2 separate regions of the Homo sapiens genome follow, and region 1 is linked to region 2. Evidence: promoter capture Hi-C in 16 types of primary human blood cells and fetal thymus (Javierre and others, 2016). All regions are on one chromosome and are shown on one strand. Each heading gives the region's core, a stretch centred on a gene start or on the middle of the fragment in contact. The rest is flanking DNA. Distances are from core to core; before and after follow the strand shown. Region 1 has its middle 5.8 kb from the start of INTS8. Region 2 holds the start of PABPC1 (poly(A) binding protein cytoplasmic 1).

Region 1 (4,298 bases), core at 1,659-4,158, 5.9 Mb before region 2:
CCCTCGCCTGTAATCCCAGCACTTTGGGAGGCCGAAGAGGGCGGATGACCTGAGGTTAGGAGCTTGAGACTAGCCTGTCCAACATGGTGAAACCCCATCTCTACTCAAATACAAAAATTAGCTGGGCGTGGTGGTTAGTCCCAGCTACTTGGGAGGCTGAGGCAGGAGAATTGCTTGAACCTGGGAGGCAGAGGTTGCAGTGAGCCGAGATTGTGCCACTGCACTCCAGCCTGGGTGACAGAGCAAGACTCTGTCTTAAAAAAATAATAAATAAGTAAATAAACAAATAGCATACAAATTTGATGGAACTTTTATTATCATTTCACTGAATCTGTAGATAAATTTGAGAATACAGTAATCAGCCTCCCTCTCTAGGAGCAGAATTTTTCTCTCCATTTATTTAGATCCTTCATGTTTTTGAATAACATTTTTATTATTTTCTTCATATAGGTCTTCCACATGCGATCTTGCCCTCATGATCTAATCACTTCCCAAAGGAGGCCCCTCCCTTCTAACCTTGGGGGTTAGTTTGCTTTCCTTTTTCTTTTCTTTTCTTTTCTTTTTTTTTTTTTTTTTTTTGAGATGGAATCTCGCTCTTGTCGCCCAGGCAAAAGTGCAGTGGTGCGATTTCGGCTCACTGCAACGTCCGCCTCCTGGGTTCAAGCGATTCTCATTACTCAGCCTCCCAAGTAGCTGGGATTACAGGCGCCCATGCCCACGCCTGGCTGATAGTTGTATTTTTAGTAGACAGGGTTTCACCATGTTGGCCAGGCTGGTCTTGAACTCCTTACCTCAGGTGATCCGCCCGCCTCGGCCTCCCAAAGTGCTGGGATTACAGGCGTGAGCCACCATGCATGGTCTAGTTTTCAACACATGAATGTGGGGGGAACACAAACATTCAGACCATAGCAGTGGTTCAATTTAACGAAGGTCATATCAGGGACCAAACCCTGGTTCTAACATTTATTCTCTGGGAGACTTTGACGAAGCTACTGATCTACTTATTCTGCTCCTAGATAAGGAGTCTCATTACTGTATTATCAAGTTTATCTATAGATTTGGTGCAATTATAATAAAAGTTCCACCAAATTTGTGTGCTATTGATTTTTTGTTTTTTAAATAGTTGTAAATCCACAGAAAAAAAATTAAGAACAATAACTTCTCTGATCCTCAGCTTCTTCAGCTGTAAGGTGAGCTCATAATTCCTACTTTCTAGGATGTTGAAAGATCAAATGAGAAAACGAGGATATAAAGGCCCTAATTTGGGTCATGGTATGTAACAAATGCTCCATAATAGTTTGTTTCTATGAGCCCATAGAATTTTTCATGGGTTTTGAGGAAATATCAGGGACTTTAAAAGCATCTATATATGGCTGGGCACAGTGGCTTACACCTGTAATTCCAGCACTTTGGGAGGCCAACGTGGGAGGATCACTGGAGCCCAAGAGCTCCAGATCAGCCTGGGTGGGCAACATAGCAAGACCCTATCTCTGCAAAAAAATAAATAAATTAGCTGGGCATGGTGGTATTCATCTGTGGTCCCAGCTACTCAGGAGGCTGAGGCAGAAGGATCACTTGAACCCAGGATGTCAAGGAGGCAGTGAGCTAAATGCCACTGCACTCCAGCCTGGGCAACAGAGAGATACCATCACAAAACAAACAAACAAAAACCAGAACGGGGTGCGGTGGCTCACGTCTGTAATCCCAGCACTTTGGGAGGCTGAGGCGGGTAGATCACCTGAGGTCAGGAGTTCGAGACCAGCCCGGTCGACATAGTGTAACCTGTCTCTACTAAAAATACAAAAATTAGCCAGGCATGGTGGCGTGCCTGTAATCCCAGCTACTCTGGAGGCTGAGGTAGGAGAATCACTTGAACCTGGGAGGTGGAGGTTGCAGCGAGCCAAGAGCGCACCATTGCACTCCAGCCTGGGCAACAGAGCAAGACTCTGTCTCAAAAAAAAAAAATACAGATAAAGTTGAAGTACCTGTGACCCCCCTCCCCCACTCCTTCCCCCCATTCACCTCTCCTCTCCCCTTCTCTAACCCACCCCTGTTCTATCCTCCTTCCCTCTTCTCTTCAGAGCCAAACACAGTAGGATTTTGATGTGCATGCCTCAATAAAATAGTTTCTCAGATTTTTTAGTCTCAGGGCCCTGTTAGACCAAAAAATTATTAAGCACTTAAAAGAGTGTTTGTTTATATTTACCATATTAAAAATTAACACTGAGAAGTTTTAAAAATATTTAATTTATTTAAATTAAAATAAAATAATCATATAAAAATAAAAATAATCCTATTACATGCTGACAAATACAATTTTATATAAAATAACTATTTTCATTTTAAAAACTAGAAGAGTGGCATTGCTCACATAGATGAGTAGTTAAAAAAAGAAGTATTTTATATCTTTTCGGATAATTATGGACTTTCTTCACCAAAACCTGAGAAAGTGGTTGTTTCTTAAAGATTAGCTGCAATTTTAAATCTGAAATCATACCAATTAACTTTTCAAATTCCGTTCCATTACAATTCATCAGTCTGTCTTGAAATTTTTTGTTTTGTTTTGTTTTGAGATGGAGTCTTGCTCTGTCGCCCAGGCTGGAGTACAGTGATGCGATTTCTGCTCACTGCAACCTCTGCCTCCCGGGTTCAAGCTATTCTCCTGCTTCAGACTCCTGAGTAGCTAGGATTACAGGCACCTGCCACCATGCCAGCTAATTTTTGTATTTTTAATAGAGACAGGGTTTGATCACGTTGGCCAGGCTGGTCCAAACTCCTGACCTCGTCATCCTCCCACCTCGGCCTCCCAAAGTGCTGGGATTACAGGCATGAGCCACCGTGCCCAGCTGAAATTTTTTATTTATTTACTTTTAAGAGGCAGGGTCTCGCTCTGTCACCCAGACTGGAGTACAGTGGCATGATCATAGCTCGCTGCAGTCTCCAACTCCTGGTTTCAAGTGATCATCCTGCCCCTGCCTCCCAAAGTGTTGGGATTACAGGCATGAGCCACTGTGCTCGGCTTGTCTTGGAATTTAAATAAATCTTTTAGCCATATATTAGGAAAATATTGATTGATTTGTCAAGTTGTGATGATCATCTGAAAGTTGACACATTTAAATATACATTTGTTAATATCGCCATTGGTGTCATCAGAAAAGTCTTGTCAAGTATTGGGAAGCTGCCAAGTTTACAGTTTTCTAAAATTCTAATTTTACTTAAAAAGTTGAATGTTGGCCAGGAGCGGTGGCTCATGTCTGTAATCCCAGCACTTTGGGAGGCCAAGGTGGGAGGATCACTTGAGGTCAGGAGTTCAAGACCAGTCTGGCCAACATGGTGAAACCCCATCTCTACTAAAAATAGAAAAATTAGCCAGGTGTGGTGGTGGCAGTGCCTGTAATCCCAGCTATTCGGGAGGCTGAGGCAGGAGAATCGCTTGAACCTGAGAGGTGGAGGTTGCAGTGAGCGGTGATAGCACCATTGCACTCCAGCCTGGGCAGCAAGAGCAAAACTCCATCTCAAAAAAAAAAAAAAAAAATTGAATGTTATTATTCGCCACAAATGGTGTTAGTTGTTTTCCATAAAGTGACATGACAGGCTCACTTTGTTCAAGAAAATGTCTGCTAAATACCCAAGTCTGAATGACCACAGTCTGTTCTCATTCTTTCTTTCTTTTCTTTTTTTTTTTTTTTTTGAGACAGGGTCTCACTCTGTCACCCACCTGAGTGCAGTGGTGCAATCTCGGCTCACTGTAGCCTCATCCTCTTGGGCTCAAGCAATCCTCCCACCTCAGTTTCCCACATAGCCAGGACTACAGACGCACACCACCATCCCAGCCTTATTTTTTATTTTGATTTTTTTGTAGAGACAGAAGTCTCACTATGCTGCCCAGATACGTCTTGAATTCCTGGACTCTCCACCTCAGCCTCCCAAAGTGCTGGGATTACAGGCGTGAGCCACTGCACTCGGCCAGTTTCTGTTGTTTTAAACCACAAAGTTTGTGGTAATTTGTTACAGCAGCCACTTGAAACAGATACAATGAGTATGTCACATTTTATTTGTCTATTCACCAGGTTATAGACCTTGGTTTCTACTTTTAGGCTACTGTAGATACTGCTGTTCTAAACATTCAAGTCTTTGTGTGGGTACATTTTCTCCTTTCTCTTGGATACATACCTAGAAGGGGAATTGCTGAGTCATCTGGTAAGCCTATTTTTAACATTTTTTTTTTTTTGAGACAGAGTTTCATTCTTGTCGCCTAAGCTGGAGTGCAATGGCGCGATCTCGGCTCACCGCAACCT
Region 2 (4,314 bases), core at 1,059-3,558:
AATTCATTCCCATGTTTTCTCCACCAACTCTTAGGTTGTGATAACCTGCCCCAAAGTTATCTACCCCCATCTGACATGCATTGATACATCCTGCCTAAGGTTGACAAGAACTGTTATGAAGTGACATTTGGAGTTACTGCTTACAGAGCAAAAGGGCAGGAAACCTGCAGTGCAGTTTTACAACTTCTGGCTCTGTGTCACTCAATATTCTGCTTCCAAAATCAGTATCAACTTTACACAGTGAAGAGCTGATCAGTAACCTAAGTTCTACTGAATGAATGTTAATAGGAGCTTAAATTCCACCCTTAAGGCCTTTTCTAATAAAAATGAATTCTTCATATTTCGATTATTTGACATGTATTCAAGTGGCCAGCCTGTAGGGGGGGAAAAAGGCAAAATTGGGCCGTAAAATGGAATTAAGCTGACTTCTCAAAGCCAATTGATCTAAAGACAAATCCTAGCAACTCAACAGACCACAGATATTATCTGTTTACAAAATTGTGTTTCTGTTAACTGTTTAGCTTCAAAATAAAAGCACAAAGTTAGCTGCATTTCCCCCATAAATTTCAAGCTCAATTTAATCTCCGTTATTTTGTACTCAGTCATTTCCCAAGATTTACAGGTATCATGGGCCACTTTTAAAAATAAAAGAGAAACTTGAACTTCTTGCATGCTACAGATAAGACTGGTCCAGTTGGAATTACACTAAAGTAACATTTTATAGCCAAAGTTGACTATTTTATAAAGAAAAGCCCCTCAAAACGACAGGAACTATTTCAGAAGGTAACATAATATACTCGAAAACCACCAGTACTGTGAATCTAAGATAAAATTTGACTAAAAATGGTCTAAGTTGCCTGAGAAAACTGGCCTTCAAAGTGGTCGGCTGCCACATCCCCTCCTCCCACTCTGCCCTTTTAATGTTAGAGAAATGCTTGATCTAGGGGAAACCCCAAATGCATGTCTCCGGTAAATTCCATTCCTAGATCCATCAGTCACTGATGAGTTCTGGGAAGTGGACTCACAAGCCTGAGGACCACCACCACACCACACATCGCCACAGGAACTTTATCCTAAGGCCTGGTGGCTCCCCCAGGCGACTGGGCCAGGAGCAGGAGCAGAAGCAGGCCTCGGGCCTGCGAGGTTACAGGGTTCAACACGTGGTATTTTTCGAGCACAGAACTGCACTTCCTCCCCAGGCTGGGGCGCCGGCAGGAGCTCCGGGTGGTGGGAGCGCCTCCACCTCTTACCCACGGAAGGAGCTCAGCGTTCAACGCCCCAGAATCCCGGGGCCACTGGCGGGAGCGCCGCGGAGGAACCGAATCTCACCCACCCTCCCGGCGCGTCATCACCCTAAAGTTTGAGAGCGTCTGAGGCCGAGAAAATGGTCGCAAAGGAGGAAGTAGCCGGGCGTGTGGCTGCCGGCAGCGCGGGTCCCCGCCGGCTCGGGAAACGCGGCTCCAGGGACCCCGGCGCCTTCCCGCCGGCCGTCGCGGGGTGACATGCCCTCCCGCCCCCCTCCCCGGGCCCGCCGGCCTACCCCGCCCGCCGCCGCCGCCCGAGCCTCATGGCCGCCCGCCCGCCCGGCCGACCGCGGAGCCCGGCGCTCACCGTCCGCCGGCTGCTGGAAGTTCACATACGCGTAGCCCAAGGAGCGGCGGGTGATCATGTCCCTGCAGACCCGGATGGAGAGGATGGGCCCGGCCGGGCTGAACTTCTCGTAGAGCATCGCCTCGGTCACGTCGGGGTGGAGGTCCCCCACGTAGAGCGAGGCCATGGGGTAGCTGGGGGCACTGGGGTTCATCTCGGCACGGCTGCCCGCAGGGCCACAGGCCGCGACCTTTCCGTGAGAGGAGGAGAGCGAGTGCCGGGGCTGGGGGCCGGAGCCGGGGGGAGGGGAGCGGGGAGCAAGCGCAGAGGGACAAAAATCAACCGGAATTGAAAACTACTCAACGGCCGCAGAACGGGGTCGATCCACTGCCGCTGGCTGCCGGCTGCCGGCGGGGAGCGAGGGTGGCGGTGTCGGGTCCGGGCAGCGGGAAGGCCTCGGTCTCTTGGTTCCTTCTTGGAGCTGCTGCGGGGCCGCGGGCGGGCGGGTCGGTCTCGGCTGCTTCACCGGGTTATTTTATAAAAGAGGAAGAAAAAAAATAAAAGTCTCCGGCGGGGGAGACGCGGATTTTTTGTAAATTTTTTTGGGGTTTTTTAAAAGATTTTTTTAGATTTTTTTTGGATTTTTTAATAATAAATGTGTGTTCCGAGCCCGGAGCACACACTCCGCACTCTCAGCACTAACCGCCGGGGAGAAGGGGAAGCACCGCCTCCTGCACCCTCTACTTATACCCCGCGCCGCACTCGCCCCGCCCCCGCGCGTCTGACGCCAGGGCCCCTACGCGAGCGTCAGCGCCGGAGTAGGAGGAGACGCGGAGGCCAGGGGGAGGAGGGAAGAGAAAACAGGAGGAAAGAGCAGAGAGGAAGGGAGAGGTGGCGGCGGTGGAGGCTGCGGTGTGGGGGTGGGGCTCGGGCGAAGGGGCGGGGCTTTTGCGCAGGCGCCGCGGCCGGGGAAGCGGAGCCCGCGCTGCGTCGCGTCCGTGGGGGTGGGGAGGACGGCTCGCGGGCGGTCCTCGGGGGTGTTGGCTGAGGCGTCCCCGCCTTCCGCCCCGCCCGCCCCTGCCTCCACCAGGAGGAGCGTTAACCCGTCACCGCGGCGGTGGGCGGTGCAAAGGGCTTCCGGGTTCCTCCGCGCTAACCACCCCCCACGTGCGCGGCCGCCTGTGGCCTCTTCCCGCTGCGGCCGGCCCGGCTCCTCTAGCCCCAGCTCCGGGGGACGCCGGGCACGGGTGAGCGGGCGTGGTCCCCTCCGGGCCCGGTTTCCGAAACGTGCGTAGATGGAGCCAGCGTGGCCCCCTGCTCTCTCCTACCCGGACCGCACTACGAGTCCCAGCCGGCACCGCCGCCACGCGCGTCGGCCGCAGAAGCGGTGCCTGCTGGGAGCTGGAGTCCCCAACGGCCGCGGCGCTCGCTGACACCAACTGGCTGCGCGGGTCCTGGCCGCCCGCTCCGGGACCCCCCAACCGTCCTGCGCGCTGGACCCCGGCACCGCTGGAGCTCCCGGCGCGGGGTTGGGGGGCAGGGAGAGAGAGGGGAGGGCCCCTCGGGTTCCTCGTCCTCTTCTTTTCCAGCCCGACCCTCCTCCGTGTCTTCACTGGACGTTGTCGTTGGTCAAAGTGGCTTTAATTTGGGATAGCTGTGTTGGGGGTCTTTGGTCACTTCTTACCTTAAGGTGCTAGGCTGGAATCATTGATTTGTGCTGCTTCTGCCAGACATTTCTTGGCGATAGAAACCAGGAGTGGAGAAAAGTGAATGTTTTTCCTGAAAGTACGGGTTTGTCACAATCACTACTATATGGCACCACAGCCCTGCAACCAGACAAAATTAGGAATAGTCTAAAACAACGTCCTTATAAATAACTAAAACAATTCTGCACATTAGTAGTGGGTTTTAATAGGAATGCTAAATTTAACGAATTGATAGTAATAAAAACCGGCTCTAGGAATGACATTAAATCAACATACAAATTCCACTCGAAAGTAGTAAAGTGCTTTTACAGTTTTTAAAGCACTCGCGTAAACATACTATCATTTGTTCCTGAGAGCAATCTGGTGTGGGAGGTGGAGCAAGTAGTAATAATTTTACTTTACTGTTACAGGAACAGTCTCAAAGAAGTTAAATGATTGCCCAATTTATTCCTTAATTCAATAAACTTTAATGGATGTCAACTGTATTGCTAGGTGTGGAATTAAGTACTTTATATCTTGTCTCATTTAATTAGAATTTAAACCAGTGGAATCCCACATAAATACTATTTTGCTCCTATTAAAAAGAGGATAAAATGTGACCGGGCGCGGTGGCTCACTCCTGTAATTCCAGCACTTTGGGAGGCTGACGCACGCTGATCACTTGAGGTCAGGAGTTCGAGACCAGCCTGGCCAACATGGTGAAACCCCGTCTCTACTAAAAATACAAAAAGTAGCCAGGCGCGGTGGCTCACGCCTGTAATCCCAGCACTTTGAGAAGCCAAGGGGGGCAGATCACGAGGTCAAGAGATCGAGACCATCCTGGCCAACATGGTGAAACCCCGTCTCTACTAAAAATACAAAAATTAGCTGGGCGTGGTGGCGCGCGCCTATAGTCCCAGCTACTCGGGAGCCTGAGGCAGGAGAATCGCTTGAACCCGGGAGGCGGAGGTTGCAGTGAGCCAGGATTGCGTCACTGCACTCCAGCCTGGTGACAGAACGAGACTCAAATAAATAAAAA

What was found. The method cuts DNA at HindIII sites, captures the fragments that hold promoters and counts their contacts. A CHiCAGO score of 5 or more calls a contact.
Region 1: a contact is called between a fragment that was not itself captured here and the fragment with the promoter of PABPC1 in region 2, in 1 of 17 cell types (neutrophils). The highest score is 5.5, in neutrophils.

Annotation. Positions count from the first base shown.
Region 1 is chr8:94,815,378-94,819,675 of GRCh38, forward strand. No RefSeq gene overlaps it. Among named protein-coding and RNA genes, the nearest start is that of INTS8, 5.8 kb to the right of the region's middle. The HindIII fragment of the contact is 7,350 bases long and covers 1-4,298 here.
Region 2 is chr8:100,719,780-100,724,093 of GRCh38, forward strand. PABPC1 (poly(A) binding protein cytoplasmic 1) reads right to left here and starts at 2,309. Exons shown (of 15, transcript NM_002568.4): 1 at 1,612-2,309. The coding sequence starts at 1,804. RefSeq lists silencers at 1,486-1,595, 2,276-2,355, 2,436-3,145 and enhancers at 1,548-2,380, 2,435-2,935, 2,936-3,436. The HindIII fragment of the contact is 6,173 bases long and covers 1-4,314 here.